Regions from separate parts of the Homo sapiens genome. Here region 1 is linked to region 2. Evidence: promoter capture Hi-C in 16 types of primary human blood cells and fetal thymus (Javierre and others, 2016). All regions are on one chromosome and are shown on one strand. The core of a region is centred on a gene start or on the middle of the fragment in contact, and the rest is flanking DNA. Distances in the headings are between cores, read along the strand shown. Region 1 has its middle 7.3 kb from the start of HTR3E-AS1. Region 2 holds the start of CAMK2N2 (calcium/calmodulin dependent protein kinase II inhibitor 2).

What was found. The method cuts DNA at HindIII sites, captures the fragments that hold promoters and counts their contacts. A CHiCAGO score of 5 or more calls a contact.
Region 1: a contact is called between a fragment that was not itself captured here and the fragment with the promoter of CAMK2N2 in region 2, in 1 of 17 cell types (M1 macrophages). The highest score is 5.3, in M1 macrophages.

The regions. Positions count from the first base shown.
Region 1 is chr3:184,109,906-184,115,031 of GRCh38, forward strand. No RefSeq gene overlaps it. Among named protein-coding and RNA genes, the nearest start is that of HTR3E-AS1, 7.3 kb to the left of the region's middle. The HindIII fragment of the contact is 3,629 bases long and covers 1-3,105 here.
Region 2 is chr3:184,260,166-184,265,042 of GRCh38, forward strand. It overlaps CAMK2N2 (calcium/calmodulin dependent protein kinase II inhibitor 2), which reads right to left and starts at 1,388. Exons shown (of 2, transcript NM_033259.3): 1 at 952-1,388; 2 at 1-62. The coding sequence starts at 1,120. The region is part of intron 2 of EEF1AKMT4-ECE2 (EEF1AKMT4-ECE2 readthrough); the gene reads left to right. RefSeq lists enhancers at 1-42, 43-594, 2,480-3,242. The HindIII fragment of the contact is 12,942 bases long and covers 1-4,877 here.

The DNA.
Region 1 (5,126 bases), core at 41-2,540, 150 kb before region 2:
AGCCTGGCCAATATGGTGAAACTCCATCTGTACTAAAAATACAAAAGCTAGCGGGGCATGGTGGCACATACCTGTGGTCCCAGCTACTTGGGAGGCTGAGGCAGGAGAATCACTTGAACCCAGGAGGCAGAGGTTGCAGTGAGCCAAGATTGTGCCACTGCACTCCAGCCTGGGCAATAGAGGGAGACTCCGTCTCAAAAATAAATAAATAAACAAAAATTTTAAAAAAATTAAAATTAAAAAATAAATAAAATAAAATAAAATAAAATAAAAACGATAACAGCCCTTTCCCAAAACAAACCTCCTTCTTGCCTGGGGACTAGACTGCCTTTATAGGACTAACGAACTAGCCACAAGATTAGAAATTATGGTTTAGGAGTCATGCAGGTGGAGGCTACAAAATTCTGACCCTCCCTAAACTGCTCCTAAGATCAGTGCTTAAGGTATTTTGCAGACCCTGCACTTAATGAATCAGCTGGCCACCAAGATCGATAAACTGACTCATCTGATCTTGTGGCCCCGACCCAGGAACTGACTCAGCACAAGAGGACAGCTTCAACTTCACATGATTTCATCTCTGATCTGACCAATCGGCACTCCTGGCTCACTGGCTTCCCCCAACCCACCAAGTTGTCCTTAAAAACTCTGATCCCCGAATGCTCAGGGAGGCTGATAAAATTCCAGTGTCCCGCACAGCAGGCTCTGCATGAATTACTCTTCCTCTATTGCAATTTCCCTGTCTTGATGAGTTGGCTCTGTCTAGGCAGCAGGCAAGGTGACCCCATTGGCGATTACAGACGCTTGAATTTCACTAGGTTATGTCAAATGTGTGTTTTCACTAATCCTTTCTGTGTCTCAGTGACCTTTTTCAATGTGAATATTTAAATCTTTCTTCTGTTTGGGGAATTTTTTCTAGGATATAAGTAACACTCTACTTACTCTCTTCCATCTGTTCTTTTTCTGTTCAGGCATTTCTTTTTTTTTTTCTTTTTTTTTTTTTTTTGAGATGGAGTCTCGCTCTGTCACCAGGCTGGAGTACAATGGCGTGATCTCAGCTCACTGCAACCTCCACCTCCTCGGTTCAAGCGATTCTCCTGCCTCAGCCTCCCAAGTAGCTGGGACTACAGGCGCACGCCACCATGCCCGTCTAATTTTTGTATTTTTAGTAGAGATGGGGTTTCACCATGTTGGCCAGGATGGTCTTGATCTCTTGACCTCGTGATCTACCCGCCTCGGCCTCCCAAAGTGCTGGGATTACAGACATGAGCCACCGTACCCAGCGCTGTTCAGGCATTTGTGCTATTCACAAGTTAGGTCCTATGGATCTGTTTTCTAAACTGTCTTTTTCTCTTCCAGCTTCCATTTTTTGTGGCTTGGCTTTGTGTTGTGACCAATCTTTCAGACAACAATTCAGTTTTCAGGAGTGACCATTTCTATTCTCAGCTCATCTACTGAATGTTTTAATTAAAAATAATTTTTAATTTCATAAAGTCTTTTTTTATTTTTTTGAGACGGAATCTTGTTCTGTTGCCCAGGCTGGAGTGCAGTGGCACGATCTTGGCTCACTGCAACCTCCACCTCCCGGGTTCAAATGATTCTCCTGCCTCAGCCTCCCAAGTAGCTGGGATTACAGGTGCATGCCACCGTACCCGGCTAATTTTGTATTTTTAGTAGAGATGGGGTTTCACCATGTTGGCCAAGCTGGTCTTGAACTGCTGACCTCAGGTGATCCACCCACCTCGGTTTCCCAAAGTGCTGGGATTACAGGCATGAGCCACCATGCCCAGCCTCATGAAGTCTTTTAAGTGTTCTAATCACATGTCCTAGAAATTATCTTCTCTCCTTTCTTAATCCTACTTCAGAAGGAGCCCTTGTCCTCAATATTCATATTGGTCATTGACATGGTTTATTTATTTTATTTTATTTTATTTTATTTTATTTTATTTTATTTATTGAGATGCAGTCTTGCTCTGTCTCTCAGGCTGGAGTGTAGTGGCATGATCTCGGCTCACTGCAACCCAGTGAGGTTCAAAAAATTCCAAAGATTCTCCCAGGTTCAAAAGATTCTCCTGCCTCAGCCAACCAAGTAGCTGGGATTACAGGCGCCTGCCAACGTGCTTGGCTAATTTTTGTATTTTTAGTAGAGAAGGGGTTTCACCATGTTAGCCAGGCTGGTCTCGAACTCTTGACCTCTCAGGTGATCCGCCCATCTCAACCTCCCTAAGTGCTGGGATTACAGGTGTGAGCTACTGTGCCCGGCCTGACATGGTTAATTTTAAATGTCAATTTGGCTAGACTGTGGCGCCCAGTCGTCTGGTCAAACACTGGTTTAGATGTTGCTGTGAAGGTATTTTGTATATGTGATTGACAATCAGTAGGCTTTTTTTTTTTTTCCTTTTGAGACAGAGTATCTGTTGCCCAGGCTGGAGTGCAGTGGTGCGATCTCAGTTCACTGCAACCTCCGCCTCCTGGGTTCGAGCGATTCTCGTGCCTCAGCCTCCCAAGTAGCTGGGATTACAGGCATGTGCCACCACACCTGGCTAATTTTGCATTTTTTTAGTAGAGACGGGGATTCACCATGTTGGCCAGGCTGGTCTCGAACTTTAGCCTCCAGTGATCCACCCGCCTCGGGATCCCAAAATGCTGGGATTACAGGTGTGAGCCACTGCGCCTGGCCCCGTTGTTTTCGTTGCCTGCTCGTAATTTTGTGTCCTCTCAGTACCTGTATAGGTCACACTGTAAGGTTCTTTCGAAGAAGAGCAAACCAACTTAACTGTGGCGGCCTGGGCCAGGCTGCTTATATGAACCAGTGATGAAACACTGTCATTCTGCTGAAGCACATGGAGGGCATGCCTCAATTCCCAGGTCAATCCAGGAACAAGTAGCAATCCTCTCCCATGTGCAGAGAATGGAAATAATTGAACGTATTCATTCAATTTCCCCTGCCTTCCAACATGAACCAGTCAGGCTGTCCAATGACCACAGCAGCAAACAGTTAGAGGCAGCTCTTCCCCAAGTTCACAGGTTTCTATTTGAAGTCTATCTGCTGGACTCCTTCGGAGGACTGTAAAGCTCTGATCTTTACACAAGCCTCAAAGAGAGACAAGCTTTTTCCTCAATACTGGTCCATATCATTCAATTGGAACCCAAAGAGAGGAAACAAAGGCACAGACCTGACCATCATTCTTCTTTCCACTCTCTTACCTCTTTTCACTCCTTTATTTTCCCCAAACCCCCTACAATGTCAGGGGTGAGATTTTCCCCTGCATCATATCATCATTCTTCCTGACTCTAGTTTCTTGACTAAATGGTAGACAAAGTTGTCTTCTAGATTATGGGGAAAGCTCATAATTTGACCAACTAGGTCAAATTATGCTTGGTATGCTTAAGAGAGATCTAAAAGTATATAGAAATTCCTTTCACTCTCAAACTATTACCTTGCTGAATAATCACAGTTTTAATATGAGCCATTAAATGTTACCTTTTTCAAAACATGGGTTTTTTCATTTTTCATAAATTACAAGTTTATAGAGAGAGAGAAGGAATCTCTCAATTAAAAAAATTAAGGTGCATAACTTCACACTAGTCATGATAAAATGTTAAATAAACTTAAGTTGATTCTAATAATTTGAAACAGCTTCCCATAGGCATTGACAGCTTCACTGGTAAATTTTATCAAATACTTAAAGAAGAATTAATACCAATTCTACACGGTCTCTTTCAGAAATTAAAAGAAGAGGAAACATTTTGCAACTCATTCTATGAGGCCAGTATTATTATCCAGATACTGAAACCAGACAAAGATGTTATATTTAAAAACAAAAAAACTACAGACCAATATCTCATATGAATATAGACGTAAAAATCCTCAACAAAATACTAGCAAACAGACCGGGCACAGTGGCTCAAGCCTATAATCCCAGCACACTGGGAGACCAGGGCCGGTGGATCACCTGAGGTCAGGAGTTCGAGACCAGCCTGGCCAACATGGCAAAACCCCATTTCTATTAATACAAAAAAAATTAGCCAGGCATGGTGGCGTGCACCTGTAATCCCAGCTACTTGGGAGGCTGAGGCAGGAGAAATACTTGAACCCAGGAGACAGACGTTACAGTGAGCTGAGATTGCACCACTGCACTCCAGCCTGGACAACAGAGTGAGACTGTCTCAAAAAAAAAAAAAAAAATACTAGCAAACTGAATCCAGCAACATATAAAAAGGATTATATGCAATGAACAAGTGGAACTCATCCCAAGAATACAAGATTGGTATAATATCAGAAAATCAATTAATGTAATACACTATATTAAGAGAACAAAACCCACATGATCATTTTAATAGCTGCAGAAAAAGCATTTGACAAAATCCAAAACCTTTTATGATTAAAAAATAACACTCAACAAACTAAAAATAAAAATAACTTCCTCAATCTGTTAAAGGGCATCTATGAAAAATCTACAGCTAACATCATACCAAATGGCAAAAAATTGAATCTTTTCCCCCTAAAAGTGGGAACAACACAAGAATATTTATTCTCTCCACCTCTATACAACATTGTACTTAACATTATTCAGGGCAGGCCGGGTGCGGTGGCTCATGTCTCCCAGAACTTTGGGAGGCCAAGGTGGGTGGATCACTTGAAGTTAGGAAGTGGAGAACAGCCTGGCCAACATGGTGAAACCCCATCTCTACTAAAAATACAAAAATTAGCCAAGCATGGTGATGGGCACCTGTAATCCCAGCTATTTGGGAGACTGAGGCGGAAGAATCGCTTTAACACAGAAAGTGGAGGTTGCGGTGAGCCAAGATCTCACCACTGCACTCCAGCCTGGGCGACAGAGCGAACAGTCTAAAAGAAAAAAAGAAAAATAAATAAAAAGGCATCCAGATTGAAAGGAAAAAGTAAAGCAATCTCTGTTTGCAGATGATATGATCCTGTAAATAGAAAATCCCAAGGAATTCACTAACAATCTACCAGAACTAATAAATGAGTTCAGCAAGGTTACAGGACACAAGATCAACATACCAAAAGTATTGTATTTATATATACTAGCAATAAACATTCTGAAAATAAAATTAAGAATCATTTTTAAAAAAATAAGGCATTTAGGGATAAACTTCACAAA
Region 2 (4,877 bases), core at 138-2,637:
GGACGGCGGCTTCTCCCCCATCCCCTTCAGCACGTCGTCTATCCGGTCATCCTCGATCACCACTGCGCAGGGAGAAAGCGCGTCAGCCGCGCGGCCTCGGGGGGCGGCGGCGATGAGAATGAGCCCCGCGTCCTAGCTTCCCGCGCAGCTACTGCCCGTGGCCCAGCGACGCCCCTCGGAACCCTGTGCCGCGGTGTCCTCCCCGTCCGAACTCTTCTGGAGACCCAACCCGCCGCCAAGCCTAGACCCCCTCCCCTCCCGATGGCGGAACGCCCCTCTTCCAAAGGCTCCAGCTATTCTCCCTCCCAGTGCGAGCCCTCCTGCCACCTGAGCCTTCCTCCCTCTGAGTTGATCAGAAACCTCTTGCTCACGGAATCCCCCTCTTCAACCCGCACTTCAACAGATCCCCCTGCTCAAATGGGGCTCAAACCGAGTATCCAGCTGGTCCAGCCCTCTCCTCAACCTGAGCCCTCTCGCCGCTGGAACCCCTCTTCCGATCCTGGCACCAACAGAGCTCCCCTCCCCATGCAAACAACCAAGACAAGCGGACCCCCGGCCTCCTGCCCTCTCTTGTTAGACGTCCCTCTCGACCCGAAGGTTCTTCGTATTGTCCACCGACTCAGTATTTGATCCCAAAGAATCAGCCCGTTACCCCGTGCTCCCACTTCCGTGCAGCCCCAAATGCCCCGACCGGCCCCTCCCCCTCGCCCGGGTGCCAGGGCTCTGCTTCCAGAGGTGGCGAGCATCGAATCCGGGGCACCGTGTTCCCGGGAGAAGGGAAGAGGGGGACACACACTGCAGCGGGGACCCCCCCCTCCAGCCCGGGCTGGAGAGCGGCTGGTGCGCTGGTCTGCGGCAAGAGCTGCGGGCACTCGGCGGGGAACGGCAGCCGGGGGGCGCCCGGCGGAGGGTTTCTGGGTCAGGCGGCGACTCCGGGCCCGGGCCGCGTACCTCGCTTGGCTCGGCCGATCTGGCCCAGCTTGGGGGGTCGCTTGGCCTGGTTGCCCGCGAAGAAGGAGTTGGTGTCCTGCAGGCGGCAGCTGAAGGAGAGGTCGGAGCCCTCGGGGTCTGCGCCGAAGCGGCCCATCTTGTCTTCGCTGTAGGGCAGGATCTCGGACATGGCGGGCGCGGGGTGGGCGCGGGGCGGGAGCGGGACTGCGGCGGGGCGCGGGCGGCGGGCTTGCTGCCGGACCGGCCCTACCTCAGCAGGGGAGCCGGCGGAAGGATGAAGTCATGCAGCATCCGGGGCTGAGGAGCCAAGCGGGGCCTCCTCCCCCGCGCCTCCGCCTCCCGGGCCGCTGGGCAGGCGGCGGCGGCGGCGGTGGCGGGGACCGGGCGGGGGCGGGGGCGGGGGGCGGGGGTGGCGGCGGCGGCGGCAAGAGCGGAATGACGATGAGCGCCCGACTGCGGCAGAGCACGGCGGGCGGGGCGCGGTGGAGGCGGGGCGGGCACTGGCCAGGGGAAAGAGGCGGGGCCGGGGGCAGGAGCGCGCCCAGCTACCCCGGGAACAGAGGCAGCTGGAGTGGGAGGTTCCCGCACTGTGGCGGGGAATGGCCAGCACGTGGGTCTTGGGGAATAGTACCAGCCAACCCGGCCGGGACCTCGCGGGGAGGGGCGGGACCGAAGGGGGGTGGGATCGAGCCTGGTACTGGAGGAGCTTGGAGGAGGGTCTGACCCCTAGGCTGGGAGAGGCGTGCAAGGGGGACTGGGAGCAGGAGGGCAAAAGCTGGCCGGGCGCGTTGGGGCGGGAAGGCGGCCGCAGGGCTGGCAATGGAAAGCGGGGAGCGGGAAATGCGCGGGGAGGAGACTCGGGTACAGGGTGACTGGGGAAGGCACGAACCCACAGCGCGGGAAGAGCTCGGGCCAGTGGGATGGTGCCCTTGCCGCTGACGCGCTCTTGTACTAGTTGCTCTGCTGGTCTTAAGTAGATCGTCAGGGTCCGTGCGCCTCTGAGTGCCGGTCTGTGTCTCTGTCTCCGCCTTTGTGTGTGTCAGTCCATCTCTAAGTGTCTGTATCTCTCTGTCTCTGTGCCCCGTATCTCTTTCGCTGTGTTATGGCCTTTGTCTATGCCTGTCCCTTAAGTGTCTGCCTTTCTCTATCTATCTCCATTCTTGACTCCTGTATCTCTGTGCCAGTGTCTCCGTCTCCTGAATCTGGGTATTTCAGTCTCTCCTAGGAGGGGTCTATAGAAACTGGGCCGACGCGCGCGCACCAGGGCAGACACCCCCAGCCCTAGTCCGGTGGCTGTAGCCCCCCGCGGCTCTGGAGTGGTGCGCTCGCAGTGTAGGAGGAATGAATGGCGGCGTCGCGGGGGGCGCCCTGGGCTGCGGGTGACGCGGGGAAGCTCGGAGCACCTGAGGACGCGGAGCGCGCCAGTGTGTGCCCCGAGGGAGTGCGGTAGAGATGGAGGGTGCCCCCCGCCCTCGTTGCTTTGGACCACGGGTGAGTTCTCGCCTCACCGATGGGAACATGCCCTCTTCTCCCCTTGCCTCCCGCCCCCACAACCCCCGCCCTGGCTGGCCGTCACCCGCGGCGTCACCTGCTTGCCAGCGCGCAGGAGCTCTGGCGCAATCACTGGCCTTGGGGAGGAGGGGGTGTCTCACATGCGGCGACAGTGACGGCAGCGCTGAAAACGGTAATGATCACCCTGTACGTTCATTCCACACTCCAGGCGAACGCGCTTTCCTTCCTTAATCTGGCCAAATTACCAAATCACACAGCTGGTGAGGCTGCCTTGTAGTGGGTCTCCTTCCAACACTTTCTCGCCAGGTGTTAATACCGGAGACACAGGGACAAACGCAATGGTGGCTGCCCAGGGAACTGGATGGGGGGGGCGGTATGCCACAGGATACCTTGATGCCAGCCTCACTCAAGGGCCCAGGCCTGGGGGCCCATCACTATGAAGCCCTCCTCTGCTCTGTCCTAGTCTCCGGGATGAGGGCCACAGCTGGAGGTGGAGGCCCAGCCTGGAGTGAGAGGAGCCCTGAAACTGGAAGGACAATAAAGGCGGAAGACTGGGGTCACTGGAAGAGAGTCCAGAAAATTCCACATACACTGGAAGTTGTCCAGTAATGGGTTCCAATCCTGACTCCCACTTTCTCAGTGACCTTGAACTGAAGGACCCATAATCATGGTTTTAAAAAATTAATTCGTTTGTACTTAAAACATTTTAGGAGGCCGGGCTCAGTGGCTCACGCCTGCAATACCAGCACTTTGGGAGGCCGAGGTGGGTGGATCACCTGAGGTCAGGAGTTTGAGACCAGCCTGATCAACATGGCAAAACCCTGTCTCTACTAAAAATACAAAAAAAATTAGCCAGGTGTGGCACACACCTGCAGTCCCAGCTACTTGGGAGGCTGAGGCACAAGAACCGCTTGACCTAGGGTGGCAAAGGTGGCAGTTGGCGGACATTGGGCCATTGCACTCCAGCCTGGGTGACAAAGCGAGGCGAGACTCCGTCTCAATAAAAGAAAGAGAGAGAGAGAGAGAGAGAGAGAGAGAGAGAGAGAGAGAGAGAGAGAAAGGAAGGAAGGAAGGAAAAAAATTTTAGGAAAATTAAGAAAATCACATAACATCTTTTTTTTTTTTTTTTTTTTTGACACGGAGTCTTGCTCCGTTGCCCAGGCTGGAGTGCAATGGCGCGATCTTGGCTCACCATAACCTCTACCTCCCAGGTTCAAGCGATTCTCCTGCCTCAGCCTCCCGAGTAGCTGGGACTACAGGCACACGCCACCATGCCCAGCTTTTTTTTTTTTTTTTTTTTTTTTTTTTTTTTGAGATGGAGTCTCACTCTGTCGCCAGGCTGGAGTGCAATGGCGCCATCTCAGCTCACTGCAACCTCCCCCTCCTGTGTTCAAGTGATTCTCATGCCTCAGCCTCCTGGGTAGCTGGGACTACAAGTGTGTGCCACCACTCCCAGCTAATTTTTGTATTTTTAGTAGAGACAGGGTTTCACCATGTTGGCCAGGATGGTCTCAATCTCTTGACCTCGTGATCCGCCCACTCGGCCTCCCAAAGTATTGAGATTACAGGTGTGAGCCACTGCGCCCTGCCAGTCTTTGTATTTTTTGTAGAGATGAGGTTTCACTATGTTGGCCAGGCTGGTCTTGAACTCCTGACCTCGCGATCCGCCCGCCTTGGCCTCCCAAAGTGCTGGGATTATAGGCATGAGCTACCACACCCGGCCTTATAACTATATATATATATATATATCCTTCTAGTCTTTTCACCATGTGTCTGCATGATATGATACCTCTGTAAGCCCCATGTTCTAGTCTGAAGCATGGGGATGATAAAACCTACTTATTAAGGAACGTTTTGCTGGGCAACATTCATGGCTCACACCTATGAATTCCGCCACTCAGAAGGCTGAAGCAGAAGGATCGCTTGAAGCCAGGAGTTGGAGACCAGGCTGGACAACATAACTAGGCCCCATCTCTAAATAAATAAGTAAATAAATAAGCAAGCCGGGTATGGTGGTACACACCTGTGGTCCCAGCTACTTGCAAGGCTGTGGTAGAAGGATCACCTGGGCACAGGAGTTTGAGGCTGCAGTGAGCCATAATGGTGCCACTGCACTCTGGCCTGGGTGACAGAGCAAGACCCTGACTCAAAAAAGAAAGAAAAGGACAGTTTTGTAGATGAAACTGTCCTGGGGTAAAGTGGGTTGTCTCGGGAGGTAGTGAGCTGCCCCTCACCTAAAATGCCAAAGAAGAGGCATGAGGGTTCTTGCCAAGGATGAGATAAGAGTATTGTGTGAGGAATTGAAACAATTCTCCTTTCTCTCTGCACAATGAGGGAGATTGGAAAAATGACAGTTTAATCCAGAATTCACTTGGTTACCTCCTTCTTAAATAATTATATTCCCGTCCCGGCCG